Regions from separate parts of the Homo sapiens genome. Here region 1 is linked to region 2. Evidence: promoter capture Hi-C in 16 types of primary human blood cells and fetal thymus (Javierre and others, 2016). All regions are on one chromosome and are shown on one strand. Each heading gives the region's core, a stretch centred on a gene start or on the middle of the fragment in contact. The rest is flanking DNA. Distances are from core to core; before and after follow the strand shown. Region 1 holds the start of TRPC1 (transient receptor potential cation channel subfamily C member 1). Region 2 holds the start of GK5 (glycerol kinase 5).

Evidence for each region. The method cuts DNA at HindIII sites, captures the fragments that hold promoters and counts their contacts. A CHiCAGO score of 5 or more calls a contact.
Region 1: a contact is called between the fragment with the promoter of TRPC1 here and the fragment with the promoter of GK5 in region 2, in 7 of 17 cell types (activated CD4 T cells, total B cells, non-activated CD4 T cells and 4 more). The highest score is 8.3, in activated CD4 T cells.

Annotation. Positions count from the first base shown.
Region 1 is chr3:142,722,693-142,726,939 of GRCh38, forward strand. It overlaps TRPC1 (transient receptor potential cation channel subfamily C member 1), which reads left to right and starts at 1,342. Exons shown (of 13, transcript NM_001251845.2): 1 at 1,342-2,039. The coding sequence starts at 1,868. RefSeq lists a silencer at 1,586-1,635 and an enhancer at 1,894-2,760. The HindIII fragment of the contact is 1,344 bases long and covers 669-2,012 here.
Region 2 is chr3:142,223,671-142,227,843 of GRCh38, forward strand. GK5 (glycerol kinase 5) reads right to left here and starts at 1,915. Exons shown (of 16, transcript NM_001039547.3): 1 at 1,639-1,915. The coding sequence starts at 1,785. RefSeq lists silencers at 1,449-1,668, 1,859-2,098. The HindIII fragment of the contact is 7,101 bases long and covers 1-2,680 here.

The sequences.
Region 1 (4,247 bases), core at 92-2,591, 500 kb after region 2:
AAAACAAAAAAACATGAATAGACAATTCTCAAAAGAAGATACACAAATGGCCAACAAACATATGAAAAAATGCTCAAGATCACTAATGATCAGGGAATTCCAAGTCAAAACTGCTATGCCGTATGTACCACCCTACTTCCGCAAGAATGGCCATAATCAAAAAAATCAAAAAATAATAGCTGTTGGTGTGGATGCGGTGAAAAGGGAACACTTCTACATTACTGGTGGGACTGTAAACTAGTACACCACTATGGAAAACAGTGTGGAGATTCCTTAGAGAACTAAAAGTAGAACTACCATTTGATCCAGTAATCCCACTACTGGGTATCTACCCAGAGGAAAAGAAGTCATTACACGAAAAAGATACTTGCCCATGCATATTTATAGCAGCACAATTCGCAATTGCAAAAATGTGGAGCCAACCCAAATGCCCATGAATCAATGAGTGGATAAAGAAACTGTGATATATATATATATATATATATATGTGGTATATATATATGTGATATATATATAATGATGGAATACTACTCAGCCATAAAAAGGAATGAATAAATGGCATTCGCAGAAACCTGGATGGGACTGGAGACTATTATTCTTATTCTAAATGAAGTAACTCAGGAATGGAAAACCAAACATCGTATGTTCTCACTCACAAGTGAGAGCTAAGCTTTGAGGATGCAAAGGCATAGGAATGACACAATGGACTTTCGGGACTCGGGGAAAGGTTGGGAAGGGGGAGAGGGATAAAAGACTACAAAATTAGGTTCAGTGTATACTGCTCGATGATGGGTACATCAAAATCTCACAAATCATCACTAAAGAACTTACTCATGTAACCAAACACCACCTGTTCCTCAAAAACCTATGGAAATAATATGGAAATAAAAATTTATATATTTGTATAAATTATTTAAACATAATATAATTATATATCTATATATCCTTTATAAATGAGAGTTCATTTCCAGCCTAAAATGAGTACAACATACAAACCCACGAGTCTGGCTCTCCATTGTGCTTTAAAGCATAGTGCACCAGAATATGAAATAGCTGGACAATTCCACAAAGGATTTCGACTAAACATTAAGTCGTCAGAGACTCAATTAACATACTGCTCCATATTTGCTTAATTACCTTAAACCAGTACCCTGGGTGTGGAAAGGGACGATTGAGCGAAGTCTTCCTCAGACTGCGGTTCACCTCACCAGAGCGAAGGAAGCTGCAGCGGGCTCCAGGAGCCCAGTGCGTCCCCACCGCAGGCCCCACCCACCCACGCCCCGCTTGCCGCAGGCCCCGCCCACCCAAGCCCGCCCTTGCCGCAGGCTCCTCCCTAGTGTCGTCGCTACAGAGGAGCAGAGGATGACGTGAGGACAGAGTCGCGAACATCTCCTCGGAGCGCAGCTGGGCCAGCGGTTCCCACAGCCCTGGAGCCCAACGTGCGCAGAAGCGCCTCTTGGAGCTCCTCTCCCACAGATCTCTCGTCCTCTTCCTGGGCTAGGCCGCCCCAGGCGCGGCCCCTGCGACTCCTGGCACGGCCCCGTGCTCGGCTGCCGCCCTGGCGCGCGCCACACTGTCGTCCCCGGACGGGCGCGGACCGGCTCGGCCGGGGCGCCGGCGGCTGGGGAGGGGTCGCTGGCCCCGGGGCCGCGCATGCGCCGCCACCAACTTGGGGCTGTCAGTGGAGGGCGAGTGCTGGTTCTCAGGGGAGGCGACGCCCTTCGGGGCCAACGGGCCTCGAGCCGAGGCAGCAGTGGGAACGACTCATCCTTTTTCCAGCCCTGGGGCGTGGCTGGGGTCGGGGTCGGGGTCGGGGCCGGTGGGGGCCCCGCCCCCGTCTCCTGGCCTGCCCCCTTCATGGGCCGCGATGATGGCGGCCCTGTACCCGAGCACGGACCTCTCGGGCGCCTCCTCCTCCTCCCTGCCTTCCTCTCCATCCTCTTCCTCGCCGAACGAGGTGATGGCGCTGAAGGATGTGCGGGAGGTGAAGGAGGAGAATACGCTGAATGAGAAGCTTTTCTTGCTGGCGTGCGACAAGGGTGAGAGTTAGGCCCCTTTCTCCTCTGGACGCCCCTGTCCTCCAGACCTTTAGTCCTCTCCCCCGCCTCAACTTATATCGGGGCATTCCCTCTGTCTCAGGCGCCGAGTGTCTTCCCGCCTCGCCTGCTGCCTCAGGCGGTCTTCTCCTCACCGCCTCTGCCCTGTGAGTGTGGAGCTGGCGGGAGAGTGGAGCTGGGGCTGCGCCCTCGGAGCGCTGCACCGTCGGGGGTGGCTCTGGCCTTGGGGTCCGGGGTTTAGGTAGCGCCTTGGGAGCCCCGACCCCAGCGTTTTAGCGCCGCCCTTGCTACTGACCGCATGAATGACCTGGTCTTCTCTCTGGCTCGCAGTTCATTCCTTCCGGGAGTCGAGAGGCTAGTTTCCGACACTCCAGTCGGAAAATTCCGTCACCTTACCTTAGGATGCCTCGTATGGAGGGTTCTCATCACCTGGTTTTTGTTTTTCTTAAAAACAAAACCAGACCCTCTATTATTTAGCTTCACCTGACCAGTGCTTTAGCCAGTGACTGTTGACTGGCATTAATAACGGAATATCCTAGGTGGAGATACATGAAGTAAGGACGGGACGGAAGAAATTCTGCCTTAGTTGCCAAAACTTTCTCTGGATTTACGGAACGCCTTTGATTGTTAGTGCTTTTTATTGGAGAGAAAGATTTATTGCTCCCAGATCTTTCTTTGGGAGATAAAGATAGTGAAAAATAATTACAGGAATTACAAGGCAAAAATATGTGGAATATATTTAGCGCGTTATCCTTTTTTTAGTCTAGAAGTTAATCATTTTTATGGCCATATTAAGGCCATGTCACGCAATCATCCTTTGTAGTGATGTATATAACAAAAGGGATAGGAAATTGATTGCCCTAAGACTGCTTTTGTTTCCTACATGGAAACACTAAAATTTTTCTTTTTCCAAATTTATATGGCTGTACACTTAGGAAAACTCTGTTAGAAACATGCAAACTTCTGGAACAAACCCAAAGGGCAGTTTACACTATGAAAAGACTAACTACACAGGATTTTTGTTTGTTTGTTTGTATGTGTGAATGTGTAATTAATAAATGACAGCCTTCCTAACCTCTCCTCCTGCTTTTGAAATAGGATTTTATTTACATGATTTTTTGAAAACAATTGACATATAAACAAAGTCCACCTATGTCTGTGGTTGAGCCATTTTTATGTTCTTATGTAATAGTATTAAATAATATTATGAAAGCAATATTAATAATATTGTTAAAGTACACCATGGACACAACTTTGAGCAGTCTTTGAGATGTAAAGAAACAGAATATACATCTACAACGTCACAAAAATAGGGTCTGTGGATTATGTAAAATTATTTAGTATTGCTGGAGTGGGTTGCCTGAGTTCTCTTCCCTCAAAAGTTCTGAGAGAGGAAGGGGAGAAGATTGTGTTGTACTAAAATGAGTAAGTGCTGGCTCCATGTATTCCAGCTCACTGTGCAATGGTTATTTTAAAGCAAACAGAAAGTATGTCAAGAAAGGAAATTTGATATTCCTGTCAAACTGAGGACAGAAAAATATCAGTGGAATATGGTTGAGCAAGTATTTGTGCATTGTGTATATTTAGGATTATTGCATGACATATCTCAAACAAAAGAGAGTTTTAATTTATGATAGTTGTATAGCCTATTTAGTAGTACCAGGTGAAATACCTTGATATTCTTTGTCAGTTTTTTATTTTATAACATAATTGAGATGAGAGACTTGGCTTTGGGGGGGTAGGGTGGAAATTAAATATGCATATTTTCCCCATATATAAATTAGAAATTTTTAAAACAAGTGAGCTAAAATGGGAATTTTCTGTTTCAGGTATGTCTAAACAACTTCTTGAGTTAGATTTGGAAAAATAGCATAATTCTTACGCATACTTATGGGGTACATTTACATTTAAAAAGTAACTTTGAGTTATAGGAATATTCTTTTGATTACGTGTTTGTATTCGCTAATATTGTTAGACTTTTTAAAATGTTACCTAAACCAGTCTAAAAGTGAACAATTTCCTGAAGTAGCTATGACTTCCACCATTACACTGGAGCCTTCCTCAGACCAAATGTTAAACATTCACTAAAGCAGCTATTGGGGTCGAGTGTTCATGCTTTTCATAGAGGATTTCATTTAAACCCCACAACCCCATGAGCCAGATCTGTTGTTGTCCTCAATTTGTAGATGA
Region 2 (4,173 bases), core at 665-3,164:
TCTACAAAAATACAAAAATTAGCCAGGCATGATGGCGGGTGCCTGCAATCCCAGCTACTCAGGAGGCTGAGGCAGGAGACTTGCTTGAACCTAGGAGGCAGAGGTTGCAGTGAGCCGAGATCATGCCATTGCACTCCAGCCTGGGTGACAGAGCGAGACTCCGTCTAAAAAGAAAAAAAAGAAAAACTTAATGGAAGGAAGTCTGATGTTTCCCCAGAACAAATGCTCAAAGCAGTCACTACTCACTGGCACTCTAGCTGGACCTTGCTCCTGGGCAAGTGCTACAAAGAAAAACACCTCTAAGGTGGTGGGAAGAAGAACGGGACACTGAGAAAAAGGGGGAATACAGTGCTGCTGGGAATGGTTAGGTAACTGATGGCTCCGGCCCTCCCTCAAATTTCTAACATAAAAAGATGTTGGTACTGGGAAGAGAAAATAAGAACACCATAACAGGCTGGCTGCAGTGGCTCACGCCTGTAATCTTGGCACTTAGGGAGGCCGAGGCGGGTGAATTATTTGAGCCCAGGAATTTCCAGACCAGCCTGGGCAACATGGCAAAATCCCATCTCTATTAAAAAATACAAACAAATTTAGCCAGGCATGGTGGCCCCTTGCCTGTAGTCCCAGCTACTTGGGGGGCTGAGGTGGAAGGATCACTTGAGCCCAGGAGGTCAAAGCTGCAGTGAGCCGAGATCACAGCACTGCACTCCAGCCTGGGTGACAAAGTGAGACCCTGTCTCAAAAGAAAAAAAGGAACAACAATAAGAACACCATAACAAATAAATATTATTTTTGGTGCATTGACAATTGTGTATAAATCAACACTTCATTAATATGAGAACAGAAGGATATCAATTTGTTGGTTGCTGACCAATATTATCAACAATTCAAGGCTTTACTAACAACCAACCAATGATTTGGCAGGTCTCTCAAACGAGGGGAAATAAAGAATTTTATGAATTCTCAAAGATGGAAAATAGAAAACTGATGACCACACAGCCTTCAAAACTTGCCCAATACCTCTAATATCCACGGCAATCAGTTGCTCACGTAAGGAACCAGCATTTTGTGGAGTAGTAGTTAATAAAGATGACAAGTGAAGAATAGAGAATAAACTTAAATTCTACAAAGATATGAAAAGTTATTGAGGCACAAGTCCAAAGGCTATAATAAAGAAAAAAGAAAAAAAGTTTTGAAAAATTAAAATGTAAATAAAGATGTGGTGGGAGATCTATCAGGGAAGTGCAGGAAGAACCAAGCAACTCACAAACCACCCTCTGGCTGGATGTGCACAGCCTGCCCAGTCCCGTCCGGCGAGTCACCTCAGTCCCATCCAGGTAAGGCCGGACAGGTGGCTCCCCAGGTGGCAAGAGGCAAGCGAGCGGCCCAGGTCATACACCGGGCCCCTGGCACCCTCAGCCTGGACAGGAAGGGCGCGCGGGATTCAGCCCAGACGAGGGAGGGAACGCGAAGACTCAGCCGGTCTGGGCGCGCCGTTCTGGCCCCAGGGCCCGCGGGTGCTGCAGGTGGCCGCGTCCAGGGCGGTAGGTGGGGCCTGCCCGCTCGCCTCCCGAGGCCGGACCCCGGGACTCAGCGAAACCCAGTCAGACCCGCGCCCCACGCCCGCCCCCAAGTCACCTTCTGCACGCTGGAGCCGCAGACCCGCGCCGCCCGGTCATAGACGTGGCAGCGGATCACAGAACTGCCCACATCCAGCCCCAGCACGAAGCCGGGGTACCGCGGCTCCTGCGCTCTCTGCTCCGGGTCCGTGAGCAGCCCCGACATCCCGATCCCGCACGCCTCTCCGCTACAGCCGCCTACCCAGAGGGCGCGCTACAAATCCCAATGCTCCAGAGTCCCCGGGCGGCCCAACCCGGGCCCCAACCCGGCTCAGCCGGAGAGCCTAGAGAGGCCTGGCCCCTGCCGCCGGCTCCACCCCGACGCCGTGACGCCACGGGCGCGCGCCGGCGGCCGCGCGGGAGGGGTGGAGGTGAGCGGGTTTGCGCCGTGATCTGCAGCCCCAGATCGCCAGCCATGCTCAGCCTCCAGTCGCCGGCCGCGGTTGGATTGACTTGGCCCTTAACTCTTGTTTTTTTTCTTTTTGAGACGGAGTCTCACTCTGTCGCCCCGGCTGGAGTGCGGTGGCGCGATCTCGGCTCACTGCAACCTCCGCCTCCCGGGTTCAAGCGATTCTCTTGCCTCAGCCTCCCGAGTAGCTGGGATTACAGGCGCGCTCCACCACGCCCGGCTATTTTTGTATTTTTAGTAGAGAAGGGGTTTCACCATGTTGATCAGGCTGGTCTCGATCTCCTGATCTCGTGATCCGCTCGCCTCGGCTTCCCAAATTGCTGCGATTGCAGGCGTGAGCCACCGAGCCCGGCGGCCCTTAACTCTTAATTTTTTCTTTTGCTTCTCCAGCTTCCTGAGAGGCAGCGCCAGCGTTTCTCTTAACCCTAGCTACATTTGAAGAATCTCTGTTAAAGAAAAATAGCTACCCCATATGCTAATCGTAAGGAGAGAAGTATAGGCTAGTTTATATAAAAATCTCAAAAAGTTTGGAGGTGCCATAAGGCACATTTATTCATTTCTCAACTATGATTATGACTTGAGGGTTGGAGAAATTTTTATCTGAGTAACTTTGGCAGACTAACCTGTGTCTGCGTTCGTGCAGAATTTTTCAAGCTTAAAACATTTGTAGAGGTCACTACCATATATAGTTTCCATTTTTTTGCTAACATTTTGGGTGCGACTTTATTTCAGTATTATTAAATGCACAGCCATTGAATATGCTAGAGTTAAATGAAATAAAGTGCTGTTTTTCAAAAATGAAATAAAACAAGTGACATAAAAAATTCAAAATTTGGCCAAAAGTATTAATATTTATTAACAAACTGAGAGCTCCCCACGACTTCTCTTCCCAGAAAACCTGGTAAAGTTTGCACACAATACAAAGCGGTAAATATTTGCCAAATGAAATACAACGCAAGGAAGAAGACTTTTCTCAGCCCTCTAGTGGGAAAGAAAGGAGAAAGCTTAAGGTGGCTGCTTTGACCATCACACTCCACTCCAGCGGTTGCTTTTTTTTGGAATCTGAAAGCCTCACAGAGACCCTTTACCTTTTGTTGCTGCCCAAGGGGATGGGCTCATCCAGACACTTGGCCAAAAGGAACAAGGTGTCCTGTGGAAATTTCGAGATTCTTGCGGCTTAGGTTCCTGGGCCTGGAGCTTTCCCGGGGAGGGTCCTGATCTGCAAGTAGTGGGGAGGTGGTTCCACCTGCGCCACCCACCTCTCCACTGCCACCAGCAATCTGTGAAGCCGGGGCCTGAAAATATTCCTTATCTTCTTTTTGTAAAATTAGCAAACATATGAATATATGTTTTGTGTGAAAACGTTTAACAGTGCCAACTGGTATGTCAATTAAAAGGTAAAAGATAATCATTTTGGCTGGGCGCGGGGGCTCACGACTGTAATCCCAGCACTTTCGGAGGCCGAGGCGGGCGGATCACTTGAGGTCAGGAGTTTGAGAGCAGCCTGGGCAACATGGTGAAACCCCGTCTCTACAAAAATACAAAACTTAGCCGGGCGTGGTAGCGGGCTCCTGCAATCCCAGCTACGGGGGAGGCTGAGGCAGGAGAATTACTTGAAGCCGGGAGGCGGAGGTTGCAGTGAGCCGAGATCATGCCACTGCACTCCAGCCTGGGCGACAGAGCAAGACTCTGCCTCAAAATACATACATACATACATACATACATACATACATACATACATACATACTTACATACATACATACATACATACTCATTTTGAATCAAAACTTTTTTTAGACAGGGTCTTGCTCTGTCGCCCAGGCTGGAGTGCTGTGGTGCCATCTCAGCTCACTGCAGCCTCGACCTCCCGGGCTCAGGCGATCCAACTGCCTTAGCCTCCCATGTAGCTGGGACTACAACCACCACGCCCGCCTAATTTTTGCATTTTTTTGTAGAGACTCTGTTTCGCCATATTGGCCAGGCTGGTCTTGAGCTCCTGGCCTCAAGTGATCCTCCCACCTTTGTCTCCCAAAGTGCTGGGATTATGGGTGTGAGCCATTGTGCCCAGCCAAATCATTCTTTTTTTTTTTTTTTCTTTTTTGAGACGGAGTTTTGCCCTTGTTTGCCCAGGCTGGAGTGCAGTGC